Linked DNA regions of Homo sapiens: all the other regions are linked to region 4. Evidence: promoter capture Hi-C in 16 types of primary human blood cells and fetal thymus (Javierre and others, 2016). All regions are on one chromosome and are shown on one strand. The core of a region is centred on a gene start or on the middle of the fragment in contact, and the rest is flanking DNA. Distances in the headings are between cores, read along the strand shown.

Region 1 (5,577 bases), core at 1,160-3,659, 400 kb before region 4:
AATACAAAAATTAGCTGGGTGTGGTGGCACAAGCCTGTAGTCCCAGCTACTCGGGAGGCTGAGGCAGGAGAATCACTTGAACCTGGGAGGTAGAGGTTGCAGTGAGCCAAGATCGTGCCACTGCACTCAAGCCTGGCGACAGAGCAAGACTGAGTCTCAAAAAAAAAAGAGAAAATAAAAATAAAACAATCATGGCTGGGCGCGGTGGCTCACGCCTGTAATCCCAGCACTTTGGGAGGCCAAGGCAAGCAGATCACGAGGTCAGGAGATCGAGACCATCCTGGCTAACACAGTGAAACGCCGTCTCTACTGAAAATACAAAAAAATTAGCCAGGTGTGGTGGCGGGCGCCTGTAGTCCCAGCTACTCAGGAGGCTGAGGCAAGAGAATGGTGTGAACCCAGGAGGCGGAGCTTACAGTGAGCCCAGGTGGTGCCACTGCACTCCAGCCTAGGCGACAGCGAGACTCCGTCTCAAAAAATAAAACAAAAATAAAAAAATAAAACAATCATTCCTTTGGCTAGAATGTCTTCACATGGCCATGGCCAGCTGCACGGGAGGCTGGGAAATGTGGTCTTTAATCTGGGAAACTGAGCACCCTGCTGGAAAGCAGGGCTCCTATTACTGAGGAAGAAGAGGAGAGTGGTTATGGGGGGCAGCTACTTATCTCTTCCATAAAATCTTATTACTGGTTTCCCTTAGCTTATAAATTATGAGTGTTTATTTTACAAAATTAAGTAGTTCAAACAATACGAAGAGTGAAAAGAAAAAGCTAATGAAAAAGTGTAATGTGGGCCGGGCGCGGTGGCTCACGCCTGTAATCCCAGCACTTTGGGAGGCCGAGGTGGGTGGATCACGAGGTTAGGAGATCGAGACCATCCTGGCTAACACAGTGAAACTGCATCTCTACTAAAAATATAAAAAATTAGCCGGGCATGGTGGCAGGCGCCTATAGTCCCAGCTACTCGGGAGGCTGAGGCAGGAGGATGGCGTGAACCTAGGAGGCGGAGCTTGCAGTGTGCCAAGATGCCGCCACTGCACTCCAGCCTGGGTGACAGAGCGAGACACAGTCTCAAAAATAAAAAAGTGTAATGTGTTGGTGGCCATCCCATAGGCACACATTTTTGTAATTGGCCCTAAATGGGATTATATATAGATGCTCACAGATAGAGTTGTTTAAAATAGAGAAAAGTTAGGAGGCGGGGGGCAGGTAGTGTCAGATAGCGTGTAAGAGCACAGCCCTGCTGACATCTCAGCCCTGCCACCTCTGAGCTCTGTGGCCTGGTCAGGTTATCACCCTTCTTGAGCCTCATTTTCCACCTCACAGACAGGGAATCTTGACAATTAGCTCAGGGTGCATCAGAAGGATTCCAAGAGAATTCATGTCAACTGAGGGGTGCAGGAGCTGGCACGCACACAGACAATGTTGGCCATGATTCCTTTTGTTGTTCAACGTGGAAAAAAAAAAAGCCTGAGCAACACAGTAAGACCCCCATCTCTCTCTCTCTCTCTCTTTTTTTTGGGAGACAGAATCTCGCTCCGTCGCCCAGGCTGGAGTGCAGTGGCGCGATCTCGGCTCACTGCAAGCTCCGCCTCCTAGGTTCACGCCATTCTCCTGCCTCAGCCTCCCGAGTAGCTGGGACTACAGGCGCCCGCCACAGCGCCCGGCTAATTTTTTGTATTTTTAGTAGAGACAGGGTTTCATCGTGTTAGCCAGGATAGTCTCGATCTCCTGACCTCGCTATCCACGCACCTCGGGCTCCCAAAGTGCTGGGATTACAGGCGTGAGCCACCGCGCCTATCCTGACCCCATCTCTGTAAAAAACTAAAAAATTAGCTGGGTGTGATGGCGCACACCTGTAGTGCCAGCTATTAGGGAGGCCGAAGAGGGAGGATCGCTTGAGCCCAGGAGGTCAAGGCTGCAATGGGCCGTGATGATACTACTGCACTCCAGCCTAGGCAACAGAGTGAGACTGTATCTCAAACAAACAAAAACCTTAGGAAATATATAGTGAAACAGTGAAAAAAAAAAGTTCATGAGGCCGGGTGCAGTGGCTCACGCCTGTAATCCCAGCACTTTGGGAGACCAAGGTAGGTGAATCACCTGAGGTCGGGAGTTCCAGACCAGCCTGACCAACATGGAGAAACCCATCTCTGCAAAAAATACAAAATTAGCCGGGCATGGCGGCTTATGCCTGTAATCCCAGCTATTCAGGAGGCTGAGGCAGGAGAATCGCTTGAACCCGGGAGGCGGAGGTTGCAGTGAGCCGAGATCATGCCATTTTACTCCAGCCTGGGCAACAAGAGTGAAACTCTGTCCCAAAAAAAAAAAAAAACAACTCATGATCCCTGATGTAGTCACTGATCACATTCTAGACTAGAGCAGAACTGCCTGCCTGGTGTCCTCCAAGAGTGTCACACAGGACACTGAGAAACTGCAGGAAAGAAACCTCCCCACTCTGTTAAGTTGCAAAACTGACATGTGTGCCTCAAAAATTCCTGCCATGTGCCCTACGCTTCTCAGTCATGCGCCCCTGTCCCTTACCGTCTCCACTTCACCTCCCCTCCCCATGGCCACGTAAAGACTTCAGATTTTCTTATATATCACCTTCTTTTTTTTCATGCTGCAAGCAGCTCTGCATGAAAATTATTTTTATCTTTCCCTTCATTTTTACATAAGAGGTAGCCTGTTTTACACACTGTTCTGCTCCTTGATTTTTTTCATTAACAATATATCTTTGAAATCTTTCCACGTCAGTGCATAGGGAGCTTCCTTCAGAGAGACATTTTTAATACAAGTCACACTGTAGGCTAATTTCCTTTCTTAGAACTAGGCAGCATCAAACATCAGTTCGGGTGGGTGCTCGGAGACCATCTTGGCTGCAGTTCTTAAAATGGGATCCAGGGTTTGTTTTCAGGGGCCCATGAACTCCTTGTAGCTTGAAGCTGATTATGTGGGAATAGCCTTTCTAGATAGCGGGTGGCGTCTGTGTTTTTGAGCACATGTGGTTACCTGGAGTGGGAGGTGGAGCAGGAACTGGGTATATAAAGGAATGGGGTGGGAGGGAGAGTTTTGATTATACGTCTTTTCATATATTTAAAAATGTTCTGAACCTGTGACTGTAGAATACCTATTTGGGTGGGAGAAAGGATTTAATGTCTGTTTTCTTTGCTTACTCAAGTACATCAGGAAGCATTAGAAAGGTCCAGTCTCCTGCAGGCCTGGGTGCATGGATGAGGGGCCATGGCCATGAGCCCTCTGAGAGGGTCCACAGAACTGTGGGCGTGTGGATACACACAGGACGTTCTTCAGGGGACTGGGGATCTGGAATCCAAAAAGGCCTGGCCTTGTTTTATACATGGGGATCTAGAAGCCCAGAGGGGTTAGGACCCCCACAGCCACACACTAAGCCAGGGGCAGAGCTGCCTGGGGGCATCACTGCTTCTACACTCTCCCCTGGTGTGTTTACTAAAATGAGAGCCTCTGCTGGAGGCATCGGTATCCCCAGAGATTGCCAGGTCCAGACCTTCCCCAGACGTGCATATCAGGGACTTCATGGGGAGGTAGCGATGGCTCAGCTGGACCGTGGCCCCTAAGACCCTGGACCCCAGGGCCTTGTGGCTTCTACAGGCAGAGGCAAGTTCCTGTGCCTGATCCTGCCCCTGATCAGGGCTCAGCAGGGAGGCACCCCACCCACACTAGAATTTACTCATAGTGTTTTTCTGCTCCAAAGTTTTTTGTATGCCTTTTTCCTATGATTAAAATAACAGTAATAGCTAACACTTCTCAGTCACTTACTGGGTATGCACCAGGCTCCATTCTGAGGTACGTGTGCGTGTGTCAGATGTATATACACGCTATATAAACATATATATAATTTAATGTGTTTAATGCTTATAAACTACCCTATGAGAGTAGGCACTGTTATTATCCCCATTTCAACCATTGAAGTTGACCACTGAGGTCACAGTAAGTAGCAGAGCTGGGCTTCAGATGAAGATACTGTAGTTTAGAGGCTGGGCTCATAACCTCTTCTGCTGTATGGTTATCATACCTATAATTAATAAGTACTTGAATCATTTAATCACATGGCTGCATGCAGCTGAGAAACCTCCATTAACACAGTACAGGTTCATTTCTCTCTGATATACCAGTCTGGATGGAGGCAGACTAGGATTCTGCAGTCTTCAGTGACCCAGACTCCTTGCTGTTTGTTGTGCCATTGCTAGGTTTTTCCCTTTATCCTCATAGCCCAAGACAGCTGCTGAAGATTCAGCCATCACATCCACACTCCAGGCAACAGGAGAGAAGAATAAATCAAGAAGGAATATTTCTTCTCTTTAAGGACACTTTTTTTTTTTTTTTTTTGAGATGGAGTCTTACTCTGTCACCCAGACTGGAGTCCAGTGGCATGATCTCGGCTCACTGCGACCTCCACCTCCCAGGTTCAAGCGATTCTTTTGCCTCCGCCTACCAAGTAGCTGGGATTACAGGCGCCCGCCACCACGCCCGGCTAATTTTTGTATTTTTAGTAGAGATGGGGTTTCACCATGTTGGCCAGGTTGGTCTCGAACTCCTGACCTCAAGTGTTGGCTTCCCAAAGTGCTGGGATTATAGGTGTAAGCCACCACGCCCAGCCTCGTTTTGGTTTTGGTATCTGTTGTTGCTGCTGATTCTCGCTCATAATGTCGTTTCCTTTTGTGCCTGGCTTATCTCTGTCTGTGTCCTAGTCATTATACTTGAAAAGTTATTTGTAGGAATTTCAGGGCTAGGATGAGCATATTTTCCTACAGAGAGGATTGCCTTTGCTTCTGCCTGGGGGCATTACCAAGTCCTAGGTTTCCTTGCACCAGGTTCAGGGCTTGAGCTGCCCTTCGTGACTCCTTATCCCACGAGTGGCCTTGCATACTTCGCCCTGCATACCTGTTGTGCAACTCCTGGGAATGGGTAGGCCACCTGGTTCCTTCCTTCTCAGGGGTGGAGGCTTGCACCTTGTGGGGTCTTAGTTTCCTATAGGGTAGGTCTCTGGTTACCTCATATGTTGTATGTGCCCTGGGCTAGCATTTTTTTTTTTTTTTTTGAGACAGGGTCTCACTCTGTTGCCCAGGCTGGAGTGCAGTGGCATGATCGTGGTTCACTGCAGCCTCGACCTCCTGGGCTCAGGTGATTCTCCCACCTCAGCCTCCTGAGTAGCTGGGAATATAGGCATGGTGCGTGCTGCCATGCCTGGCTAATTTTTGTATTTTTTGTAGAAACTGTGTGTTGCCCAGGCTGGTCTCAAACTCCTGGGCTCAAGCAATCCACCTACCTCAGCCTCCCAGCGTGCTGGGGTTACAGGTGTGAGCCACCGCGCCCAGCCTAGGCCAGCATTTTTGTCACCCACCAAAACACCTAGCAGATGTCCTCGGACACATGAAGAAGCTTATAGGGCTCCTTTACTTATTCTTTTTTTTTTTTTCCCCTAGACCTGCAAATCCAAGATCCTTTACTTCTTTTTTTTTTTTTCCTTGAGATGGACTTTTTGCTCTTGTTGCCCAGGCTGGAGTGCCATGGCACGATCTCGGTTCACTGCAACCTC
Region 2 (5,575 bases), core at 589-3,088, 260 kb before region 4:
CAGTGGCCTGATCCTGTCTGGTCCTGGGGTGGAGCAGACACCAACAGGCGGGGCCATCTGACTGAATGTCCTCCCACCAGCTGTTAGGTCCAGGTGTTTGTGCTTACTGCCTTCCAGTGCAGTCAAAAGAATCCAGGGCTGGCACCAGCCCCTTCCTCATCTCAGGGGTAGAGGGGTAACCAGAGAGGGGCGGCACTTACCCAAGGATGCCCTGGCACTTGGGTCCAGGCTCCTGCTGCTCTCCTCGGCCACCCCTCCAGCTGTTTTGTTTTTGTTTTTGTTTTTTTTTTGAGATGGAGTTTCGCTCTTGTTGCCCAGGCTGGAGTACAGTGGCAGGATCTTGGCTTACTGAAACCTTTGCCTCCCAAGTTTAAGCGATTCTCCTGCCTCAGCCTCCCAAGTAGCTGGGATTATAGGCATGCGCCACCATGCCCAGCTAATTTTTTTGTATTTTTAGTAGAGACAGGGTTTCACCATGTTGGCTGGGCTGATCTCGAACTCCTGACCTCAAATGATCCACCCGCCTCGGCCTCCCAAAGCTCTGGGATTACAGGCGTGAGCCGCCGCGCCTGGCCTGTTTGTTTTGAGATGAGGTCTTCCTCTGTCGCCCAGGCTGGAGTGCAGTAGTGCAATCCTAGCTCACTGCAGCCTCCACCTCCCAGGCTCAAGTGATCCTCTTGCCTCAGCCTCCAGATTAGCTAGAACCACAGGCACAAGCCACCATGCCTGGCTGATTTTCTTATTTTTAATTGTTTTGTAGAGATGGATTTGCACCGGGTTGCTCAGGCTTCGTTGTGCTTTTGATTTGCATTTCCTTATGGCTAATGATGTTGAGCATCTTTTTTTTTTTTTTTTTTTTTTTTTTTGAGATGGAGTCTCGCTCTGTCACCCAGGCTGGAGTGCAGTGGCGTGATCTCGGCTCACTGCACGCTCCGCCTCCCAGGTTCACGCCATTCTCCTGCCTCAGCCTCCCAAGTTGCTGAGACTACAGGCGCCCGCCACCATGCCCGGCTAATTTTTTGTGTTTTTAGTAGAGACGGGATTTCACCATGTTAGCCAGGATGGTCTCAATCTCCTGAACTCGTGATCCGCCCACCTTGGCCTCCCAAAGTGCTGGGATTAGAGGCATGAGCCACCGTGCCCAGCTGATGTTGAGCATCTTTTTATGTGCTTGCTGAACACTTGTGTATCTTCTTTGGAGAAATGTCTTTTTAGTTCTTTTGCCCATTTTTAAATTGAGCCAGCCGGGCACAGTGATTCATGCCTATAATCCCAGCACTTTGGGAGGCCGAAGAGTTCGCGACCAGCCTGGGCAACATAGCAAGACCCAGTCTCTATTAAAAAAAAGGGGAGCCAGGCGCAGTGGCTCACAATTGTAATCCCAGCACTTTGGGAAGCCAAGGTGGGCAGATCATTTGAGCCCAGGAGTTCGAGACCAGCCTGGACGACATGGTGAGACCCCATCTCTATAAAAAAATGTAAAAAATTAACCAAGCCTGGTGGCTCATGCCTGTAGTCCCAGCTACCTGGGAGGCTAATGTGGGAGGATTGCTTGAGCCCAGGAGGTCGAGGCTGCAATGAGCTGTGGTCTTGCCATTGGACTCCAGCCTAGGTGAGACTCTGTCTCAAAAATAAATAAAAAATAAGTAAATGAATTGTTTGTCCCTTCATTATTGAGTTGTGAGAGTTCTATATACGTGTATCCCGGATGCAGGACTTCTCAGCTGAGCGATTTGCACCACCTGGGATGTTTTCAGCGTGTAATGCCAGTGCATTTCCTTCCCGTCTCTTCTCTCTGGCTAGATTCACAGCCACCGCTAGATAAAAATAAAGCTGTGAGGATACTGTAGATACAGTTGAATATCCTGCTTCTGCACTTCATTTTTCCGTTTTTTTAGAAAGCATGATTTAAAGTACATCACTGGGCTGTTGTAATTCATTCTAGCCATTTCCGCATTGCTGAGCGTTTAGGTCCTTTCCAGTTTTCAGTTGCATAGATAATGCAGTGATGTTCGTCCTTGTCCATAAATCTTCATGCTCATCACACGGGTAGCCTTCTTAGAAAAAATTCTTAGAAGGTGATTTTACCAGGTCAAAGGGAAGGAACATTGGAAGTCTCAGATACTGGCTGTGCCCACATTGGACAGTGAGTGTTGAGGGCTAGGGTTCTGTCGTCATAGTCACCACTGTAGCTTTAGATTTTTTTCTGAGAGAGGGTCTCTCTCTTTTTTTCTGCTTTTGAGGTTTAAACCATGGCCAGAGACAGGGTCTCGATCTGTCCCTCAAGCTGGAGTGCAGTGGCGTGATCTTGGCTGACTGCAAACTCCACCTCCTAGGCTCAAGCCATTCTCCTGCCTTAGCCTCCCGAGTAGCTGGGATTATAGGCGCGCACCACCACGCCCGGCTAATTTTCGTATTTTTAGTAGAGACGGGGTTTCACTGTTGGCCAGGCTGGTCTCAAACTCCTGATCTCAGGTGATCTGCCTGCCTCAGCATCCCAAAGTGCTGGAATTGCAGGCGTGAGTCACTGCACCTGACCAGATTTTTTTTTTAATGATTGAATGAATAGTATTTGCATGTGGGTGCCTTGATGTTAAGATGGTGTCTTGTTTTAGCGAGCGTTCTTTTGACTACTAGTTAACTTCGGTTTTGTTTGTTTGTTTTGTATTTTTGTGGGTTTTTTTTTTTTTTTAATGGAGTTTCACTCTTGTTGCCCAGGCTGGAGTGCAATGGCGCGATCTCAGGTCATCACAACTTCCGCCTCCCAGGTTCAAGCGATTCTCCTGCCACAGCCTCCCGAGTAGCTGGGATTACAGGCATGCACCACCACACCCGGCTAATTTTGTATGTTTTGTAGAGACAGGATTTCTCCATGTTGGTCAGGCTGGTCTGTAACTCCCGACCTCAGGTGATCCACGCGCCTTGGCCTCCCAAAGTCTGGGATGACAGGCGTGAACTACCGTGCCTGGTCTTTTTTGTTTTTTGTAGAGATGAGGTCTCGCTATGTTGCCCAGGATGGTCTCGAACTCCTGGCCTCAAGTGATCCTCCTGTCTTGGCCTCCCAAAGTGCTGGGATTACAGGCATGAGCCACTGCGCCCGACCTAACCTGTTTATTGTTAACATGTTACATGGTTCTGGGAATTGGTTCTTCATGCCCTTTGCCTATTTTTATTTTGGGACCTTTATAAGGACTCCTCTATTGAAGATAGATGTAATTTTATTGTGCAGATATATTTGTCCTCATTTATCATTTGCCTTGCAGGAAAGGTGGGGGACAGGGGTGCAGGACACTAAAGAGAAGCACTTTCTCCTCTGCTATTTCACCGAGTCATCATAGCAAAGCCCCATCTCAGTGTGAACAGCTTGGGATGGAGAAACACAGGGCTGGGGCCCTCAGAGAGGGCAGAGGAGGCAGTGGCAGCCCAGGCCTTGGAGGCCCTGCAGTGTAGGAGAGAGGGTGCTTTAGTGGAGGCCCGGCCTGGGAAAAGGGTTAGCAGGTTACAGAGGGTCCACTGTAACCACAACTCCAGCCCCATTTGCTGAGCACCAGGCTGAGTGACTCGGTGAACCTGCTGGTGCCCCACATTTTTGCAGATAAGAAACTGCTACTTGGGGTCATTGGTCACTTGCTGAAGATGGCAGAAGCCAGGGCAGCCCTGCCTGGGTCCCTGGACACATCCAGCCCACCACAGCTATGGAGGCTCAGCAAGTCCCAGGAGCCTCAAGTTTCAGCAGGAGCCTGGACTCCCTCGTCTCCCACAGCCATGGCCACCACGTCATCAGCACCCTCTGTATGAGGGTCCTGTATGTCATGTGCTGTTTCCTTCCAGTAGCTTCCTGACTCTTCAGGAATACTGTTCTTTGCCCTGAGGATCTGTCGCCCACCTGCATCTGCAGCCTCAGCTCTGCTCCCCCTCTGCCCTGTTGGAGGGTCCTCAGAACCGACTCTTCCCTCTGTCTGGAAGGATGGCCTGGACTTTTGTGTGGCTCCTGTTGGCTTATGGCCTCCTGTCCCCATCCAGTGTAAGCTTCTTGAGATGGGATGTCTGGCTTTTTTGTTCACCAGTGTAGCCTGGCACCTAGAATAGTGCCTGGCATAGAATAGACAACAATAAATATTTGAAGGAATTAATGAATTCCCTTTTTCTTTTTTTTTTTTTTGTTGAGACAGAGTCTTGCTCTGTCTCCCAGGTTGCAGTGCTGTGGCGTGGTCATGGCTCACTGCAGTCTAGATCTCCTGGGCCCAGGTGATCCTCCCGCCTCAGCCTTCTGAGTAGCTGGGACCACAGGCACGTACCACTACACCTGGCTAATTTTTGGATTTTTTGTAGAGACGGGGTTTCCCTGTGTTGCCCAGGCTAGTCTTAAATTCCTGGGCTCAAGTGATCCTCCTGCCTTGGCCTCCGAGAGTGCTGGGATTACAGCCATGAGCCATTGCACCTGGCCACATTTCTTACTTTTACTCATCTTTTAGGTCTCAGTCGAAATGTTCTTTTCTCTTATGGGTCTTTTCTAACTATTCCTCCAAATCTGAATTTGTATCCCCTGTGTTTTCCCCTATAATATGCATTTTCTTCTTATAACTGGTAAATTTTTGGGTGATTTGTTTGCCTTCCTCCCAGTCCTTGAGGGCAGGGACCAGCCCTGTTTTGTTCACGGCTGTCTGCCTAGCCCAGGTTGTTGCATAAAGAATGAATGAATGAAAATATGTTCATTAGTTCCCAAACAGACCTCTGAGGGTTGGTGGCATTACCCTCTTGTTATGAAGGAGGAAGGTGAGGGTGGGCAGTAAGAAATTCCAAGCACCTGGTTTCCATCACTGGAGCCTTTGCTGGACCAGTAAACAGCTTACAGTTTCTAAAATTCCAATCTAAAGCACTCCCAAAGCTTCTGAATTCAGATGGCCATCTGGTACCCATGACCAGAAGCCTGAGGCAGGTGGCCCGAAATAGCCTGCCTGGTTCTGGCAGGACTGAATGTCTACCGATGAGTGCTGGGCTTTCCTCAGAGGCCCCCTTTCCCGAGCCTGGCCCTGTCACCTACTGAGGACTTGGGTGGGTGGCAGTGCTAGGAAGCATTGAGCCACTAAATGACTCAGCAAACCCTTGTCAAGCACCTCGGTGCCCCCAGCTCTGCTGAGTCCTCTGCCGGATTGTCTTGCCTGTATGCTCATTTGACCCTGACAGTGATCTTCAGTTCCCCAAGGCTCCAAGAGCTCTGTCTCCTCTGAGCCTTTGCACATGCTGTTCTGTCTGTTGCAACACTCTTCTCCCTCCCTTCTGCTTTTTAATTATTATTATTATTATTATTATTATTTTTAATTGAGACAGAGTCTTACTCTGTCACCCAGGCTGGAGTGCAGTGGTGCAATCTCGGCTCACCACAACTTCTGCCTCCCGGGTTCAAGCAATTCTCCAGCCACAGCCTCCTGAGTAGCTGGGATTACAAGTGCGCACCACCACACCCAGCTAACTTTTGTATTTTTTTAGTAGAGACAAGGTTTTGCCTTGTTGGCCAGGCTGGTCTCGAATCCCGACCTCAGGTGATCCGCCTGCCTCGATCTCCCAAAGTACT
Region 3 (5,943 bases), core at 31-2,530, 360 kb after region 4:
CGGGGTTTCACCATTGTTGGCCAGGCTGGTCTGGAACTCCTGACCTCAAGTGATCCGCCCGCCTCGTCCTCCCAAGAAGGCCCAATTCAAATGGCCCTCCTCTTTGAATCCTTTCCCAACGTATTGTTCTCTGCATTAACCGAGTTCCCGTCTCACCGGATTCTCATGGTCTCGGAGGTTCTCACGGTCTTCTCGATTGTACTGGGAAGACAGTGGCTAAGTTCCCACCATCTAGCCTGGTGCTTGGCACACAGGAGGCCCTCATGAATCACGAACTGAAGGGAAAAGGTGGAAATGGGACATCATAGGGCCAGAAGGGACACAGGCGAGCTCGCTCTCTCTCTCTTCCTGAGAGTTGGCAGTTGAGGAAACCCAGCCTACTTGGGATGCAACGGCCCTGGACCACGCGGGTCGTGCAGGGGCGTGACCGCTTAAAAAGGCGGGTGGCTGAGCGGGCGCTGATTGGTCACCTAGCGGCTCACGCCGACCAAGGCCTTGTCAGAAGGCTCGAGGCCGAGCTCACGCTGTGCAAGACGACAGGGCCCTTCCCGAGGCGCGCGTGCGCACGGCCACTTGCACCCTGCCCTTTCAACCCCGTCGTCTCGTGCCCAGCACATCTTGGCTGGAACTGGTAGGGGCGTGGCCTGGCCTCAGGAACGCACTCTTGCTCTGCTCCTCACGCCTCGCGCAGGATCCTCGCGCCGGGAGGATTCGCACCCAACCCCAAGCCCGGTTGGGAACGTGGTGTCCGAGACCGTCTGGGATCCCCGCGCGCACGGCCGGCTTCCCGGGACCCGCGCGAGACGCTGTCTGATCGGGCTCCCTAGAGTGGGGCCCGGAGAAACCAGAACGGCGGGGGCAGCCTCACGCCATTTTGCACGCCCTGAGGCGGGTGCTGGAGGCCAAGGGGAATGGGGCGCGGGGCAGGGGGCCTCCCCCAGCACTAGCTGGGCTTAGGGGAACCCGGGATCCCCACAGGAGCTTCCCTCGGTGGGGGGCTCAGGGGAATAGAACATGCTCTGGGTGCAGGGCCACGGGCGACGGAGTTTGGGTTTGAAGCCGGGGGTCCAGGTTCGAGTTTGAGGAACGGAAGACTCTGTTTGTGTTGGGAATCCGGGCTCTCGAGTTCTGATCTGGGATCTCGGGATTTGTGTCTAGGGGTGACTAGTTCTGGAATCTGAAGAGCTTGAGTTTTGTGACTGGAAGCTTTCTCCTTGGAATCCAGAGATCCCAATTTGGGGATCTGGAAGTCTTAGTTCTGAGTTATGATGTAACATTTTGAGAGTCTGGAGCCTGATTTGGGGCAACTGAAGCCTCAGTATAGATTTAGGGCCTAAATCCCAATGTAGAGTATGAAGCTTTAGGATCTGGAGTCGCAGTTTGAGTCTTTAGAAGCACGTTTTAGGGCCTGGAGTGCCCACATTGAGTATGGGAGCTCCAGTTTTAGGGTCTGGGGTTTCAGAGTAGGACCCACATTCGAGATCTCAGTTTTAGGGTTGGGGCCACAATTTGAGGGACAGTTTGGACGTCTAAGAGGTCAATCTGGAGAAGTGAGATTTGTTTCATAGGGGCCTGGATTTCTTATCTTAGGATATAGGTTCATAGTGTTACAGCTTGCAGTCTGTAATCTTAGTATTAGGATCATATTTGAAGATCAGAAGTTGACAGTTTGAGGGTCTGGGGTATCTCAGTATTAGAATTTAGGGTTTGTAGGTTTGGGAGGGCTCCTTTTTTTTTGTTTTTGAGACAAGGTCTCACTTTGTCATCCAGGCTGGAGTGCAGTAGTGCGATTTTAGCTCACTGCAGCCTTGACCTCCTGGGCTCAAACCATCCCCCCACCTCAGGCTCCCAAGTAGCTGGGACTACAAGCATGTGCCACTATGCCCAGGTAATTTTTTTTTTTTTTTTGTAGAGGTGGAGTTTTGTCATATTGCCAGGCTGGTCTCAAACTCCTGAGATCAAGCAATCCTCCTGCCTTGGCCTCCCAAAGTGCTAGGATTACAGGCGTGAGCCACTGTACCTGGCTTTGGGAGGGCTCCAAAGTGAGGATTTAGGTCCTCATTTTGGGACTCTAAAGTATTAGTTTTAGTGCCTTTTTAGAGGTTTAGGGGTTTGTTTTTGTTTTTGTTTTTTGAGACACAGTCTCACTCTGTTGTCCAGGCTGGAGTGCAGTGGCTTAATCCTGGCTCAGTGCAACCTCCGCCTCCCAGGTTCAAGTGATTCTCCTGCCTCAGCCTCCCAAGTAGCTGGGATTACAGTCGTGCACCACCACGCCCGGCTAATTTTTGTATTTTTAGTAGAGATGGGGTTTCACCATGTTGGCCAGGCTGGTCTCAAACTCCTGACCTCGAGTGATTTGCCTGCCTCGGCCTCCCAGAATGCTGGGATTACAGGTGTGAGCTACCACTTCTGGCCAAGGTTTAGCTGTTTAATTTGGGTCTTTGGGCCCATAATTTGTTGGGGCTAGGGACTCTTATTTTGGGATCTCTGGGTGCTCAAAGGAGCATCATAGGGAAGATGAAGGGTGCCCATCAGGGTTCCTGCCCATCCTTCCTGCAATCCCAGAGGTCACTAATCATTCTTTTTCCCTCTTTGCAGATGTTTGGTTCCAGCAGATACTTGGGTTCCTCTGAACAGCCCAGAGCTAATTCACTGGGTCCCAGTGACAGGTAAGGGCTTGCCCCATCTCCCTTATAGCCCCAGCCACTCTCATTGAATAATAATAACAAAAACATTTGCTGAGCATTTACCGTTTGCTAGACTCTTTGCCAAACATTTTGTTTGTATGATAACTGTTAATCCATACAACAATCTCATGAGGAAGTTGTGTACAAAGATGCCTACCATTTTCCAGATGAGAGTACTCTGAGGTGATCGGCAAAGATCATTGCTTATTTATTTATTTATTTATTTTTGAGACAGGGTTTCACTCCTGTTGCCCAGGCTGGAGTGCAGTGTTGCGATCCCAGCTCACTGCAACCTCCGCCTCCTGAACTCAAGTGATTCTCCTGCCTCAGCCTCCCCAGTAGCTGGGACTACAGGCTCATGCCTCCATGCCTGGCTAATTTTTGTATTTTTTGTAAAGATAGGGTTTTGCCATTTTCCCCAGGCTAGTCTTCAACTCCTGGCTTCAAGTGATCTGCCTGTCTCAGCCTCCCAAAGTGCTGGGATTACAGGTGTAAGCCACCATGCCCAGCCCATTTCTTTTTTTATTTTTAGGGCAAAGATAACTTCTAAGGTCCTTGCAGCCTGTGACATTCTGAGTTTGTTTGTTTTCAGAGTTAGGGTATCACTCTGTTGCCCACGTTAGAGTGCAGTGGTGGCATCATAGCTCACTATAGCCTCGGACTCCTGGGTTTGAGCCTGGGCTTGATCCTCCTGCTTCAGCCTTCCGAACAGCTAAGATTACAGGCACATGCCACCACACCCAGCCAGTTTTTCTATTTGTTGTAGTGACAGGGTCTTGCTATGTTGCACAGGCCTGTCTTGAACTTCTGGCCTCAAGTGATCCTCCTGTCTTATCTTCCCAAAGTGCTGGAATTACTAAGCCACCACGCCCAACTGACATTCTGAGTGTCTTTCTTTCTTTCCTTTTTTTTTAAGACAGAGTCTAACTCTGATGCCCAGGCTGTAGAGTGCAGTGGCGCGATCTTGGTTCACTGCAACCTCTGCCTCCCAGGCTCAAGCGATTCTCCTGCCTCAGCCTCCCAAGTAGCTGGGATTACAGGTGCCCACCACTATGCTCAGCTAATTTTTTTGTGTGTATTTTTAGTAGAGACAGGGTCTCACTGTGTTGGCCAGGCTGGTCTTGGACTCCTGACCTCGCGATCCGCCCGCTGGAGTGCAGTGGCGTCATCTGGGCTCACTGCAAGCTCAACCTCCCGGATTCACGCTATTCTCCTGCCTCAGCCTCCTGAGTAGCTGGGACTACAGGCGCCCACCACCATGCCTGGCTAATTTTTTATATTTTTTTTAGTAGAGATGGGGTTTCACCATGTTAGCCAGGATGGTCTCGATCTCCTGACCTCGTGATCCGCCCACCTCAGCCTCCCAAAGTGCTGGGATTACAGGCGTGAGCCACTGCGCCCAGCCTTTTTTTTTTTTTTTGAGATGGAGTTTCACTCTTGCTGCCCAGGCTGGACTGCAATGGCATGAACTCGGCTCTCTGCAACCTCCGCCTCCCGGGTTCAAGCGATTCTCCTGCCTCAGCCTCCCGAGTAGCTGAGACTACAGGCGCATGCCACCACGCCCAGCAAATTTTTGTATTTTTAGTAGACATAGGGTTTCACCATGTTGTTCAGGCTGGTCTCGAACTCCTGATCTCAGGTGATTCACCCGCCTCGGCCTCCCAAAGTGCTAGGATTACAGGTGTGAGTCAGCAAGCCTGGCTTCTTTCCTTTTTTTTTTTTTTTGAAACAAGGTCTTGCTCTGTCACCTAGGCTGGAATGTGGAATGCAGTGGTGCAATCCCAGCTGACTGCAGCCTCGACCTTCTGGGCTCAAACAATCTTCCCATCTCAGCCCCCTGAGTAGCTGGGACCATAGGCGTGCACCACCACGCCTGGCTAATTTTTGTATTTTTCGTAGAAATGGGTTTTTGCCATGTTGCCGAGGCTGGTCTCAAACTCCTGGGATCCAGTGATCCACCCAGCCTCCCAAAGTGCTGGGGTTACAGGCATGAGCCACCACGCCTGGCTCTTTCTTTTTAGACAGGGTCTTGCTCTGTTCCCCAGGCTGGAGTGCAGTGACACGATCACAGTTTACTGCAGCTTTGACCTCCCAGACTGAAGCAGTCCTCCCACATCAGCCTCCCAAGTATGCAGGACCACAGGCACACGCCACTATGCCCAACTAATTAAAAAAAAAAAAAATTGGCCAGGTGTGGTGGCTCACACCTATAATCTCAGCACTTTGGGAGGCCAAGGTGGGTTGATCACTTGAGGTCAGGAGTTTGAGTCCAGCCTGGCCAACATGGTGAAACTCCATCTCTACTAAAAATACAAAAATTAGCTGGGCATGATATAATCCCAGCTACTTGGGAGGCTGAGACAGGAGAATCGCTTGAACCCAGGAGGCAGAGGTTGCAGTGAGCCGAGATCGCGCCATTGCACTCCAGCCTGGGCAACGAGTGAAACTCTGTCTCAAAAAAAAAAAAAAAATTGTGGACAGGGTCTCACCATGCTGCCTACACTGGTCTGAAACTCCTAGGCTCAAGTGATCTTCCTGCCTCAGCCTCCAAAAGTGCTGGGATTACAGGCGTGAGCCACCATGTCTTTACTTCCTTTCTTTTATTCACGCATTCATTCATCCATCAAGCACTTACCAAGTGTAATGAATCTTATAGAGGGAATTTTCACAGCAGATTGGAGGTTGGATCAGATTTCTCCCTCCCTCCAAAGTCTGGATAAAGAAAAAATAAGGCCAAAGTTCATATTAACCCCTACCATCTCCCCCAGTGACTTTCCATCCAACTATCTCTTCATTAACTCCAAAATTAAGCATCTACGGGGTTATGTCCTGATAAACCCATCATAAACTGAAAATATTGTATGTCAAAAATGCATGGTTGATGGCTCAGGCCTGTAATCCCAACACTTGGCGAAGCCAAGGTGGGCTGATCACTTGAAGTCAGGAGTTTGAGACCAGCCTGGCCAACAGGGCAAAACCCCATCTCTACTAAAGATACAAAATTTAGCCAGGCATGGTGGTGTGTGCCGGTAATCCCAAGCTACTCAGGTGGCTGAAGCAGGAGAATCACTTGAACCTGGGAGGCGGAGGTTGCAGTGAGCCAAGATCGCGCCGCTGCGCTCCAGCAACAGAGCAAGACTCAGTCTAAAAAAAGAAAAAAAAGCATAGCTGATTGGGAGCTGTGGCCCAGTGTTGCTGCCCAGCACAGTAAGAGAAGTATGGCTTCTACTGAATTTGTATGGCTTTCACACCATTG
Region 4 (5,870 bases), core at 1-2,500:
GTCTTAGGCAAGTACCTTCACCTCCCCAGACCTCAGTATCCCTATCTCTAAAATGAGCCTAAAGCCAGGCGTGGTGGCTCACACCTGTAATCCCAGCACTTTGGGAGGCTGAGGCAGGTGAACCACCTGAGGTCAGAAGTTCAAGACCAGCTGGGCCAACAAGGTGAAACCCCGTCTCTACTAAAAATACAAAAAATTAGCCAGATGTGGTGGCGCGCACCTGTAATTCAATCTCAAAAATAAATAAATAAAATAAAATGGGCCTAATAATAAAACCTTCCTCATAACATGACTATGAGGATTGTGAGAAATTGCAGGTTAAATATTTGGCACAGTAGCTGATATATAGTGAACTTTTCTCCCTTCTTTTTTAAGAGACAAGTGTCACTATTGCCCAGGCTGGAATGCAGTGGCACAATCATGGCTCACTGCAGCCTCCAACTCCTGGCCTCAAGCGATCCTCCTGCCTCAGCCTCCCGAGTAGGTGGGATTACAGGCGCCCGCCACCACACCTGGCTAATTTTTGTATTTTTAGTACAGACGGGGTTTCACCGTGTTGGCCAGGCTGGTCTCCAACTCCTGACCTCAAGTGATCCGCCCGCCTCGTCCTCCCAAAGCTCTGGGATTACAGGCGCGAGCCACCGCGCCCAGCCTATTCACCATTATTGTTTTAGATAACGGAAGATTATGGGGTCCTGGATTCCCAGGGACCTCGGACTTCTAAAATCCAGACGTCCTGCAATCTGTCTTAGGCCCAGGCGTGGCAGCCCCACCGGTCGAGTGGGCGGGTCGGGCCCACCGGCCACCCACCTTGGCGTCCAGCGTGCGTTTGAGCTCCCGCATGTAGGAGAACTGCTCGGGGTAGATGTAGTCGTACGGGAAGTAGACCAGGAGCCCGTCCACGTTGAGCCTGGCGGCAGGGGCTGCTGGGTCAGTTCCCGTCCCCTCAGCCCCTCTCCCGCCTCCACAGTGCCCGGTCGTCGAGCCCAGAGAAGGGTGACGGGCCCGGCGCCCCCGGTAACCCTCAGGTCCTCAGGAGCCTCGGGGCCCCCTCAGTGTCTCCTCGCTATCACTGCTGCTCCCTGCGGCTGCCCCCGTCCCACCCCTTCACCCTCCCCTCGCCCCCTTGGGGACCCAGGCGCGCCCACCGATGACCCCATCTTCAAGACCCCCCGCGCCCGCTAGCGAGCGCGACCCCCAGCCCCCTTCTCACTTCATGGCGCCGGCCGGACTGTGCAGCGGGGTCGACCCGCCTCCCTCATGAATATTCAGCGAGAGGCCGGGTCGTGGACATCCTCGAGGGCTCGCTCCACCTATATTACGAGACCATTGGCTAACCTGCCCGTCAATCCGCTAGGGCAGAGCCAATCGGGATACTGCGCGTGCGCACGGAAAAGCGAGGGCGGCTGACTCTCGGGTGAGGCGGTGCGGGAGGCGTCACTGAGGATCGTCGAGGGCCAATCAAAAAGAAAACATGGAAGGGAAAGAGCCGAGAGACTCGATCTCATTCACTAGAATTTGGTCCTCCTGCGCCTGCCAAGATTGTCTGAGTATTGATCGAACCCAGGAGTTCGAGATCAGCTTGAGCAAGATAGCGAGAACCCCCGCCCCTCCACCTCGTCTCAAAAAAAAAAAAAAATCGTCTCAGTAGCGAATAGTCTAACGGAGAATGACAGGGAAATTGGTGATCCTTTCTGGGCCCAAGAGTTAGAAATGGCTTTGCAGGCCGGGCGCGGTGGCTCAAGCCTGTAATCCCAGCACTTTGGGAGGCTGAGGCAGGTGGATCACCTGAGGTCGGGAGTTCAAGACCAGCCTGACCAACATGGAGAAAACCTGTCTCTACTAAAGATACAAAATTAGCCGGGCGTGCTGGCAAATGCTTGTAATCCCAGCTACTCGGGAGGCTGAAGCAGGAGAATTGCTTGAACCTGGGAGGCAGAGGTTGCAGTGAGCAGAGATGGCGCCGTCGCACTCTAGCCTGGGCAACAAAAGCGAAACTCCATTTCAAATATTAATAATAATAACTAATAAATAAAACATAAATGCTAGCTTTTGTTTGTTTCTTCAACAAATAGCTATGTGGCATCTACCATGTGTCTGATCCTGTGCTGGCCCCTGGGAACAGAAAGGTGACCATGACAGCCTCAGCACCTGCCCTCAAAGAACAGATTTTTTTCCTTGAGACAGGGTCTTTCTCTGTCGCCAAGGCTGGAGTGCAGTGGCACAGTCACAGCTCACTGCAGCCTCCACCTCTTGGGCTCAAGCGATCCTCCCACCTCAGCTTCCAGAGTAGCTGGGACCACAGGTGTGCACCACCAAGCCCAGCTAAGTTTTATTTTTTAAATTTTTTTAGAGACGAGGTCTCACCACGTTGCCCAGGCTGGTTAAACTCGCAGGTTCAAGTGATCCTCTCCCCTCAGCCTTTCAAATTGTTGGGATTACAGGGGTGAGGCACCAGGCCTGGCCTCAAAGAACAGATATTAAATATACAAATGAATATATGATTACAGCCTGGAGTGGTGGCTCGTGCCTGTGGTTCCAACACTTTGGAAGGCCAAGGCGAGTACATTGCTTGAGCTCAGGAGCTAGAGACCAGCCTGGGCAACATGGTGAAAACCCGTCTCTACAAAAAATGCAAAAATTAGCTGGGCGTGGTGGCGTGCACCTGTAGTCCCAGATACTCAGGAGGCTGAGGTGGGAGAATCACCTGGGCCTGGGAGGCAGAGGTTGCAATGGGCAGTGATTGTGCCACTGCACTCCAGCCTGGGCAACAGGAGTGAAAACCTATCTCAAATGTGTGTGTGTGTGTGTGTGTGTGTGTGTGTGCGCACGTGTATAATCACAAGTACAAAAGTGCTGTGAAGGAAAACTTCAAGTCACCATAAAGATTGATTATGGGCTGGGTGCAGTGGCTCATGCCTGTAATCCCAGCACTTTGGGAGGCCAAGGCAGATGGATCACGAGGTCAGGAGTTCAAGACCAGCCTGGTCAACATGGTGAAACCCTATCTCTACTAAAAAAAAAAAAAAAAAAAAAAAAGCCAGGCATAGTGGCATGCATCTGTAATCCCATCTACTCGGGAGGCTAAAGCAGGAGAATTGCTTGAACCCAGGAGGCAGAAGTGAGCCAAGATCACGCCACTGCACTCCAGCCTGCGTGACAGAGCAAGACTCCGTCCCAGAAAAAGAAAAAAAAAAAAGACTTATTATGACAGGATGTCTACTGTCAACTGTGGGGTGTGAGTGTTGGCCAAGTGATCAGAGAAGGCTTCGTGGAAGAAGCGAGGTTTGAGTAGAGCCAGAAAATAATTAGAAGAGATCAACCAGCAAGAGGGGATGGATGAGAGAAGTGAGAAAGGTGTTCCAGGGAGAGAGACCATCATACACAAAAGCTCTAGGCCAGAAGAAAGCTGAGGCCTGTGAGTGCTGAAAGGAAGCCTGTGGGGGTGGAGCTCTGAGTTGAGCACAGGGAGCAGAGAAAGGGCAGCTGGAGGGGAAGGCAGGGGCAGATCGAAATCTCTTTTTTAAATTAATTAATTCTTAATTTATTTATTTTTGAGACAAGGTCTCACTCTTTCGCCCAGACTGGAGTACAGTGGCACAATCTCAGCGCACCGCAACCTCTGCCACCCAGGCTCAAGCAATTCTCTGGCCTCAGCCTCCCTAGTAGCTGGGATTACAGGTGCGCACCACTACTGCCCAGCTAATTTTTATACTTTTAGTAGAAACGGGGTTTCACTATGTTGGCCAGGCTGGCCTCAAACTCCTGACCTCAAAAGATCCACCCACTTCAGCCTCCCAAAGTGCTGGGATTACAGGTGTGAGCCACCCTTCCCGGCTGTATTTTTGGAGACAGAGTCTTGCTCTGTCCCAGCCTGGAGTATGGTGGTGTGAATTTGGCTCATTGCCACCTTGACCTCCAGGGCTCAAGTGATCCTCCCACCTCAGCCTCCTGAGTAGCTGGGACTGCGGGTACACGACACCACGCCTGGTTAATTTTTTTTAATTTTTTGTAGAGACGAGGGTATCTCACTATGTTGTCCAGGCTGGTTGAACTCCTGAGCTCAAGCAATTCTCCCACCTCAGCCTCCCAAAGTGGTGGGATTACAGACGTGAGCCACTGTGCCCGGCTTAATTTATTTACATAAATTTTTTTATGTTTACTTTTCTATCTCCTACAGGAAGAAAATATATTTTGTTATTGACAGGGTCTCGCTATGTTGCCCAGGCTGGTATTGGGCTCAAGCCATCCTGTTCCCTCAGCCTCCCAAAGTACTGGGATTACAAGCGTGAGCCTCTGCATCCAGCCCAGATCCAAAATCTTTACTGTCACCTACAGAGTCCTCTGTAACTAGCTTACTGCTCATCATCCCCATACCAACCCACCTTACTGCTCTGATCTCCTCCTCTCTCTCCCCCAGCTCATTTTGTTTCAGCTATGCTGGTCTCCTTGCTGTCTCTAAAACATAACAAGCACATCCCATCTCAGGGCCTTTGCACCAGCTATTTTGTCTGCCTGGAATGCTGTTTCCCCTGATAGCCATGTGGCTGACACACTCACCTCCCTCAGCTCTTTGCTCAATTGTCAACTTCTCGGCCCGGCATGGTGGCTCACACCTGTAATCCTACCACTTTGGGAGGCTGAGGTGGGCAGATCACCTGAGATCAGGAGTTCGAGACCAGCCTGGCCAAGATGGTGAAATCCCGTCTCTACTAAAAATACAAAAATTGGCAAAGCATGGTAGCACATACCAGTAATCCTAGCTACCCGGGAGGCTGAGGCAGGAGAATTGCTGGAACCCGGGAGGCAGAGGCTGCAGTGAGCCAAGATCATGCCACTGTACTCCAGCCTGGGTGACAAAGCAAGACTCTGTCTCAAAAAAAAAAAAGTCTCCTTCTCAATGAGGGCTTCCTGACCACCAAATTAAATCTACCTCCTAGACACACACACACACGCACGCACGCACGCACACACACACACGCACGCACGCACACACACACACACACACACACTATATCCCCTTTCCCTGCTTTATTGTTCTTGAGAGCTCATTTAACCATGTGACATGCTGAATATTTTACTTATTTATTTTGTTTAGAAAGCTCCTGGCTGGGCGCGGGGGCTCACGCCTGTAATCCCAGCACTTTGGGAGGCTGGAACAGGTGGATCATGTGAGGTCAGGAGTTCCAGACCAGCCTGACCAACACGGTGAAACCTCATCTCTATTAAAAATGCAAAAATTAGCTGGGTGTGGTGTCGCATGCCTGTAATCCCAACTACTCAGAAGGCTGAAGCAGGAGAATCGCTTGAACCTGGGAGGCAGAGGTTAACGCTGAGCCGAGATCGCGCCATTGCACTCCAGCCTGGGCAACAAGAGTGAAACTCTGTCTCGAAAAAAACAAAAGTCAGCTCCATGGCAGGAGTGATGGCTCACGCCTATAATCCCAGCACTTTGTGAGGCCGAGGCGGGCGGATCACTTGAGGTCAGGAGTTGGAGACCAGCCTGGCCAACATGGTGAAACCTCATCTCTACTAAAAATACAAAAATTAGCCGGGCGTGGTGACACATGTCTGTAGTCCCAGCTACTTGGGAGGCTGAGGCTGGAGAATGGCTTGAACCTGGGAGGTAGAGGTTGCAGTAAGCCAAGATCGCGCCATTGCTCTCCATCCTGGGCAACAGACTCCGTCTCAGAAAGGAAGAAAGAAGGAAAGAGAGAAAGAGAGAAAGAGACAGAGAGAGAGAGAGAAAGGGAGAAAGAGAGAAAGGATGGAAGGACCCTGACAAGCACTGTTGCATAAAAGTTTCTTTTCTCTCTCTTTTTTTTTTTTTTTTTTTTTTGAGACAGGGTCTCACTTCTGTTGCTCCAGCT
Region 5 (6,107 bases), core at 3,268-5,767, 360 kb before region 4:
TAGGATGTGACGTTTGACCAAGGAACTGAAGATGGAGGAGGAGGAAGTCACGCCATGCAAAGAACTGGGGGAAGAGCATTCAGGCAGAGACCAGCCTGTGCAAAGGCTGAGGCAGCACATACATAGTCAATTTCCTGCTCTCACATCTGCTCTCACGTGGCCCATCCTGGCTGCCCCTGAATGGTGGCAAGTCCACGTTGGGGGTAAAGGGAGGCACTGCTATTTGAGCAGAAACTTGAATAATTTCCTGGCTAATAGAGGACTTGAGATAATAATAATATTAACTAAGCTTTCTGGAAGATGTCGCGTGGTCAGAACCTGCACTAAGTAGTTTACCTGTGTGATTCTGAATCCTCATGTTAGTTCCTGAGGTAGGAGCTCACACCTCATTTTGTAGAGGAAGCTCAGAGACGGTAAGTGACTTGCCCAAGGCTGCACAGCCAGTGAGTAACAGCTGAGATTCAAATCAACTCTATGTGACTCTACACTCCATGCTCTAAAATCATGCCCATGGCCAGGCGTGGTGGCTCACACCTGTAATCCCAGCACTTTGGGAGGCTGGGGTGGGTGGGTCACTTGAGGCCAGGAGTTCGAGACCAGCCTGGCCAACATGGTGAAACCCCGTCTCTACTAAAAGTACAAAAATTAGCCGGGCATGGTGGTACGAGACTGTAATCCCAGCTACTCAGGAGGCTGAGGCAGGAGAATCGCTAGAACCCGGGAGGCAGAGGTTGCAGTGAGCCAAGAATGCACCACACTGTACTCCAGCCTGGGTGACAGAGCAAGACTCCATCTCAAAAAATAGAAAATAGGCTGGGCGTGGTGGCTCACGCCTGTAATCCCAGCACTTTAGGAGGCCGAGGTGCGCGGATCATGAGGTCAGGAGATCGAGACTAGCCTGACTAACATAGTAAAACCCCGTCTCTGCTAAAAATACAAAAAAAAAAAAAAAAAAAAAAAGCCGGGTGTGGTGGTGTGCACCTGTAATCTCAGCTACTCGGGAGGCTGAGACAGGAGAATCACTTGAACCCAGGAGGCAGAGGTTGCAGTGAGCCAAGATTGTGCCACTGCACCCTAGCCTGGGTGACAGAGCAAGACTCCGTCTCAAAAAAATAAAAATAAATAAAATAAAATAAAATAAAATATTAAATAAAAGTATCTTAGCCCAACAAGGTAGGCATTATTATTGTGCCCATTTTACAGATGAAGAAGCCAAGGCACAAAAAGGTGAAGTAATAGGCTTATGGCCCCACAACTAGCAAGTTGCAGAGCCAGGATTTGAACAGAGGCAGTGAACCCAGAGCTCCAGCCACAGCCGCCCAGGACTCAGTCTCCCCCTACAGCCCGGGAGCCTCTGGAGGGTCCAAAGTCTAACTCTGTCTTTGGGTCCCCAGGTTCATCCAGCACAGATGCCTAAGAAGGATTTTCCCAGTTCAAGTGACTTGAGGTTGGCCCTGCCACTGACCTAGAGCGTGTCCCTTCCTCTCTGCCAGCCTCAGTATCCCCATCTGCCAAATTGGGGGGACCTTGGCACCCTACTGGCTTCACAGATCCCATGAGATAAGGGGTGCAGGAAAACTACCTTTCAAGGGGCAAAGGTCTGGCTGCCAGGAGCCACTCCCTGAGAACAGAGGAGGACAGATCTAGCAGCGGAACAGGTTCGCGTCTATAAATCCCCAGCCAGAGACCAGCGCAGGCAGCCCTGGGTGGGACACCTGGCTGCAGCTGCCTTCCGTTGCTGTGTGATTCTAAGGCTCACTGGCGGCCTCTGGGCTTCCCCTTGTCCTGTCTATGGAATGACGGGAGGTCGGTTTCGATTCCTCCACGATTCTGTGAAGGGCTGAGCTTTCCTGGGGAGGTGAAAAGGGGCTTCCCTGAGGACCCAGCATTACTGTACCTCCTCACTTAGGAAGCAGGGGTGAATCTGGGATTTTGGGTGGTCACTGTGGGAGGACAGGGCTGGGGTACAGAGCAAGAGGCTGCCTGGGTTCAGATCAGCCTCTTTGCATCTTTTTGTTGTTGTTGTTGTTTGTTTTTGAGACAGTCTCGCTCTGTTGTCCAGGCTGGAGTGCAGTGACGCAATCTCAGCTCACTGCAACCTCTGCCTCCTGAGTTCAAGCGATTCTCCTGCCTCAGCCTCCCGAGTAGCTGGGATTACAGGTGCCCACCACGATACCCAGCTAATTTTTGTATTTTTAGTAGAGACGGGGTTTCGCCATGTTGGCCAGGCTGGTCTCGAACTCCTGACCTCAAGTGATCTGCCCACCTCAGCCTCCCAAAGTGCTGGGATTACAGGCGTGAGCCACCAGGCCTGGCCACCTCTTTGTATCTTTAAACACCAGCCAGTGACCTCCAGGACCCTGGGGTGGACTTCAGGGAGGGAACACACCCCAATTTGTTTGGAAATTTGGGCATCCACTTTTTCCTGGTGCTAAGACCCCTTTCTAATGGGTTCCCAAAAAGACTTCATAATCCCTGGTCTAAATGTTTTTCGGGAGGCATTTGGCTTAGTTGGAGGATACCCTGATGCTGGGACCCCAACATTAGAGGTTGAAAGGATGGTAGCCCAGAGGAGAAGATGAGGTTTGGGGTTTAGTGCCCCAGCAAGTCAGAGCCCAGGGTTTCCCAGGACGGAGGAAGACGGAAGGGTCACAGGAGGGACAGGGTTGGGGAATCTGTCTTAAAAGATGAAAAGTTGTGACCACTTTCTGGACCTTACCTTTCTCTTTCTCTTTCTCTTCCTTCCACAGATGAATTGGGTGAGTATCACAGGGCAGGTTTGCGGGGAGGCTGAGGGACCCAAGTGCCTACAGAAGGGGGTCTTGGCCTTCCTTGTTCAGTGGGGGTGGGGGAGAGGTGTCACTGTGTGACTTCCAGGACTGTGGAGGGATTTGAACGAAGTCATGCTCCTAAGGTACTTAGCAGTGCTTGACACTTGGAAAACACTCAGCACGCCGGGGGCTGTGTGACTCACACCTGTAATCCTGGCACTTTGGGAGGCAGAGGCAGGAGGACTGCTTGAGGCCAGGAGTTCAGGACTAGCCTGGGTAACATAGTGAGACCCCCATCTCTACACAAAATTTTTAAAAATTAGCCGGGCATGGTGGTGCGCACCTGTAGTCCCAGCTGCTCAGGAGGCTGAAGTGGGAGGATCACCTGAGCCTGGGAGGTTGCCTTGGAAGCCGAGGCTGCAGTGAGCTATGATTGCACCACTGCACTGCAGCCTGGGCGGCAGAGCAAGACCGTGTCTCAAAAAGAAAACCAATTAAAATAAAATAATGTTATTAATCCCCTAGTGAGTACAGACAGACACTGTTTTAGGCCCTGGGGATTTAGCCATGAACAAAACCAAGTCCCTGCCCTCGCAGAGCTGATAGCCCGGTGTGGGAGACAGAGGAAAATGAACAGATGAGCAAGATAATGTTAGCCTGGGCTGAGAGCTGTGAAAGAAATAAACAGGACGAGGGAGAGATGGCCTGGAGAAGACACATTAGGTTAGGCTTTTCTGAAGAGATAACATACGAGCTGAGACCAGGAGGAGAAGCAGCCAGCATGGGTTGAATGGGGGACCGTGTGGAACAGGCAGTTGGAGGAGCAAGTTCTTTCTTATTTATTTATTTAAGTTATTTTTTGAGACAGAGTCTCGCTCTGTCGCCCAGGCTGGAGTGCAGTGGTGCTGTCTCAGCTCACTGCAACCTCCACCTCCCAGGTTCAAGCAATTCTCCTGCCTCAGCCTCCCGAGTAGCTGGGAGTACAGGCATGCACCAACATACCTGGCTCATTTTTGTATTTATTTATCTATTTATTTAGAGATGGAATTTCGCTCTTGTTGCCCAGGCTGGAGTGCAATGGCATGATCTTGGCTCACTGCAACCTCCACCTCCCAGGTTTAAGTGATTCTCCTGCCTCTGCCTCCCGAGTAGCTGGAACTGCAGGCACACATCACCATGCCCAATTTTTATATTTTTAGTGGAGATGGGGTTTCACCATGTTCGCCAGGCAGGTCTCAAACTCCTGACCTCAGGTGATCCGCCTGCCTCGGCCTCCCAAAGTGCTGGGATTACAGGCGTGAGCCACCATGCCCAGCCTATTTATTTATTTATTATTATTATTTTTTGAGATGGAGTCTTGCTCTGTTGCGCAGGATGGAGTGCAGTGACGCAATCTCGGCTCACTGCAACCTCCGCCTGACGGTTTCAAGCGATTCTCCTGCCTCAGCCTCCTGAGTTGCTGGGACTACAGGCACGTGCCACCATGCCTGGCTAATTTTTTGTATTTTTAGTAGAGACAGGGTTTCACTGTGTTAGCCAGGATGGTCTCGATCTCCTGACCTCATGATCCGCCCGCCTCGGCCTCCCGAAATGCTGGGATTACAGGCATGAGCCACCGCGCCCAGCCTATTATTTATTGAGAGACGGAGTCTCACTCTGTCGCCCAGGCTGGCGTGCAGTGTCACGATCTTGACTTACTGCAGTGTCCGCCTCCTGGGTTCAAGCTGTTCTCCTGCCTCAGCCTCCTGAGTAGCTGGGATTACAGACGTGGGAGACCATTCGGGCTAATTTTTGTAGAGACGGGGTTTCACTATGTTGGCCAGGCTGGTCTCGAACTCCTGACCTCAATTGATTCACCCACCTTGGCCTCCCAAGGTGTTGGGATTACAGGCGTGAGCCACCGCACCTGGCCTCCCTGACTCTGTGTGTGTGTGTGTGTGTGTGTGTGTGTGTGTGTGTGTGTGAGAGAGAGAGAGAGAGAGAGAGAGAGAGAGAGAGAGATAAATGGGATGGAAAACGTCTCGGGGGTAATCAAGCCTTTTTTTTTTTTTTTAATTTTTTAAAGAATGGGCGTCACCACCCGTTTTTTCTTCTCCCGCAGAGATCATCGACGAGTACATCAAGGAGAACGGCTTCGGCCTGGACGGGGGACAGCCGGGCCCGGGCGAGGGGCTGCCACGCCTGGTGTCTCGCGGGGCTGCGTCCCTGAGCACGGTCACCCTGGGCCCTGTGGCGCCCCCAGCCACGCCGCCGCCTTGGGGCTGCCCCCTGGGCCGACTAGTGTCCCCAGCGCCGGGCCCGGGCCCGCAGCCGCACCTGGTCATCACGGAGCAGCCCAAGCAGCGCGGCATGCGCTTCCGCTACGAGTGCGAGGGCCGCTCGGCCGGCAGCATCCTTGGGGAGAGCAGCACCGAGGCCAGCAAGACGCTGCCCGCCATCGAGGTGGGCCCGGCGAGCGGCCCCGGGCGGGTGGGACTGGGGCTTCCCCTGCACCCCGGAGCCATCCACATGCATTTATACGTTTATTTGATGGTGGCTGTTGTTGTTATTGTTGGACCAGATATTAATTATACTATCACCTGGCCTGGAATCCAAAAGGTTCAGAAAAAAGGAGGGGTCGGACATTTGGCTGGGCACGGTGACTCGCGCCTGTAATCCCAGTACTTTGGGAGTCTGAGGCGGGCGGATCCCTTGATGTCAGGAGTTCGAGACCAGCCTGGCCAACATGGTGAAACCCCATCTGTACTAAAAGTACACAAATTAGCCGAGTGTGGTGGCACAATCCCAGCTATTTAGGAGGCCGAGGTGGGAGGATTAGCTGAGCCCAGGGAGGTGCAGGCTGCTGTGAGCTGAGATTGCACCATTGCATAGCAGTCTGGGTAACAGAGTGAGACCTTGTCTCAAAAAAAAAGAAAAAAAAAAAAGAAGGCAGATCGTGGTGCGGTGGCTCAGGCTTGTAATTCTAGCACTTTGGGAGGTCGAGGCGAGCGGATCACTCGAGCTCAGGAGTTCTAGATGAGCCTGGGCAAGACGGCAAAACCCCATCTCTACAAAAAATACAAAAATTAGCCAGGTGTGGTGGCACATGGCTGTAGTCCTAGCTACATGGTAGGGCTGAGGTGGGAGGATCGCTTGAGCCTAGGAGGTCAAGGCTACAGTGAGCCAAGATCGCACCACTGCACTCCAGCCTGAGCAACAGAGCAATACCCTGCCTCCATTAAAAAACAAACAAATATATATAACACTGGAAGTAAAAAAAGCAAAGGTGATTACTTTTGGCAGGGTATTAATGTATTAATAAGGTACAGGTAAGTTTTATTTTTTTGAGACGGAGTC

What was found. The method cuts DNA at HindIII sites, captures the fragments that hold promoters and counts their contacts. A CHiCAGO score of 5 or more calls a contact.
Region 1: a contact is called between a fragment that was not itself captured here and the fragment with the promoter of ERCC2 in region 4, in 1 of 17 cell types (erythroblasts). The highest score is 5.4, in erythroblasts.
Region 2: a contact is called between a fragment that was not itself captured here and the fragment with the promoter of ERCC2 in region 4, in 1 of 17 cell types (monocytes). The highest score is 6.0, in monocytes.
Region 3: a fragment that was not itself captured here is called in contact with the fragment with the promoter of ERCC2 in region 4 in 1 of 17 cell types (naive CD8 T cells); the score reaches 5.7 in naive CD8 T cells.
Region 5: a fragment that was not itself captured here is called in contact with the fragment with the promoter of ERCC2 in region 4 in 1 of 17 cell types (M2 macrophages); the score reaches 5.2 in M2 macrophages.

Annotation. Positions count from the first base shown.
Region 1 is chr19:44,965,339-44,970,915 of GRCh38, forward strand. The region is part of intron 2 of CLPTM1 (CLPTM1 regulator of GABA type A receptor forward trafficking); the gene reads left to right. Among named protein-coding and RNA genes, the nearest start is that of CLPTM1, 13 kb to the left of the region's middle. The HindIII fragment of the contact is 6,018 bases long and covers 1-5,418 here.
Region 2 is chr19:45,105,969-45,111,543 of GRCh38, forward strand. The region is part of intron 1 of PPP1R37 (protein phosphatase 1 regulatory subunit 37); the gene reads left to right. Among named protein-coding and RNA genes, the nearest start is that of PPP1R37, 16 kb to the left of the region's middle. The HindIII fragment of the contact is 4,378 bases long and covers 1-4,027 here.
Region 3 is chr19:45,732,779-45,738,721 of GRCh38, forward strand. MEIOSIN (meiosis initiator) reads left to right here and starts at 661. Exons shown (of 15, transcript NM_001310124.2): 1 at 661-888; 2 at 2,599-2,669. The coding sequence starts at 2,599. It also overlaps a transcript of FBXO46 not described here. The HindIII fragment of the contact is 152 bases long and covers 1,205-1,356 here.
Region 4 is chr19:45,369,323-45,375,192 of GRCh38, forward strand. It overlaps ERCC2 (ERCC excision repair 2, TFIIH core complex helicase subunit), which reads right to left and starts at 1,251. Exons shown (of 23, transcript NM_000400.4): 1 at 1,214-1,251; 2 at 811-910. The coding sequence starts at 1,218. RefSeq lists enhancers at 5-846, 1,465-1,544. The HindIII fragment of the contact is 22,978 bases long and covers 1-5,870 here.
Region 5 is chr19:45,007,064-45,013,170 of GRCh38, forward strand. It overlaps RELB (RELB proto-oncogene, NF-kB subunit), which reads left to right. Exons shown (of 12, transcript NM_006509.4): 3 at 2,751-2,759; 4 at 4,873-5,213. Among named protein-coding and RNA genes, the nearest start is that of RELB, 8.7 kb to the left of the region's middle. RefSeq lists a silencer at 58-207 and an enhancer at 4,570-5,071. The HindIII fragment of the contact is 8,461 bases long and covers 288-6,107 here.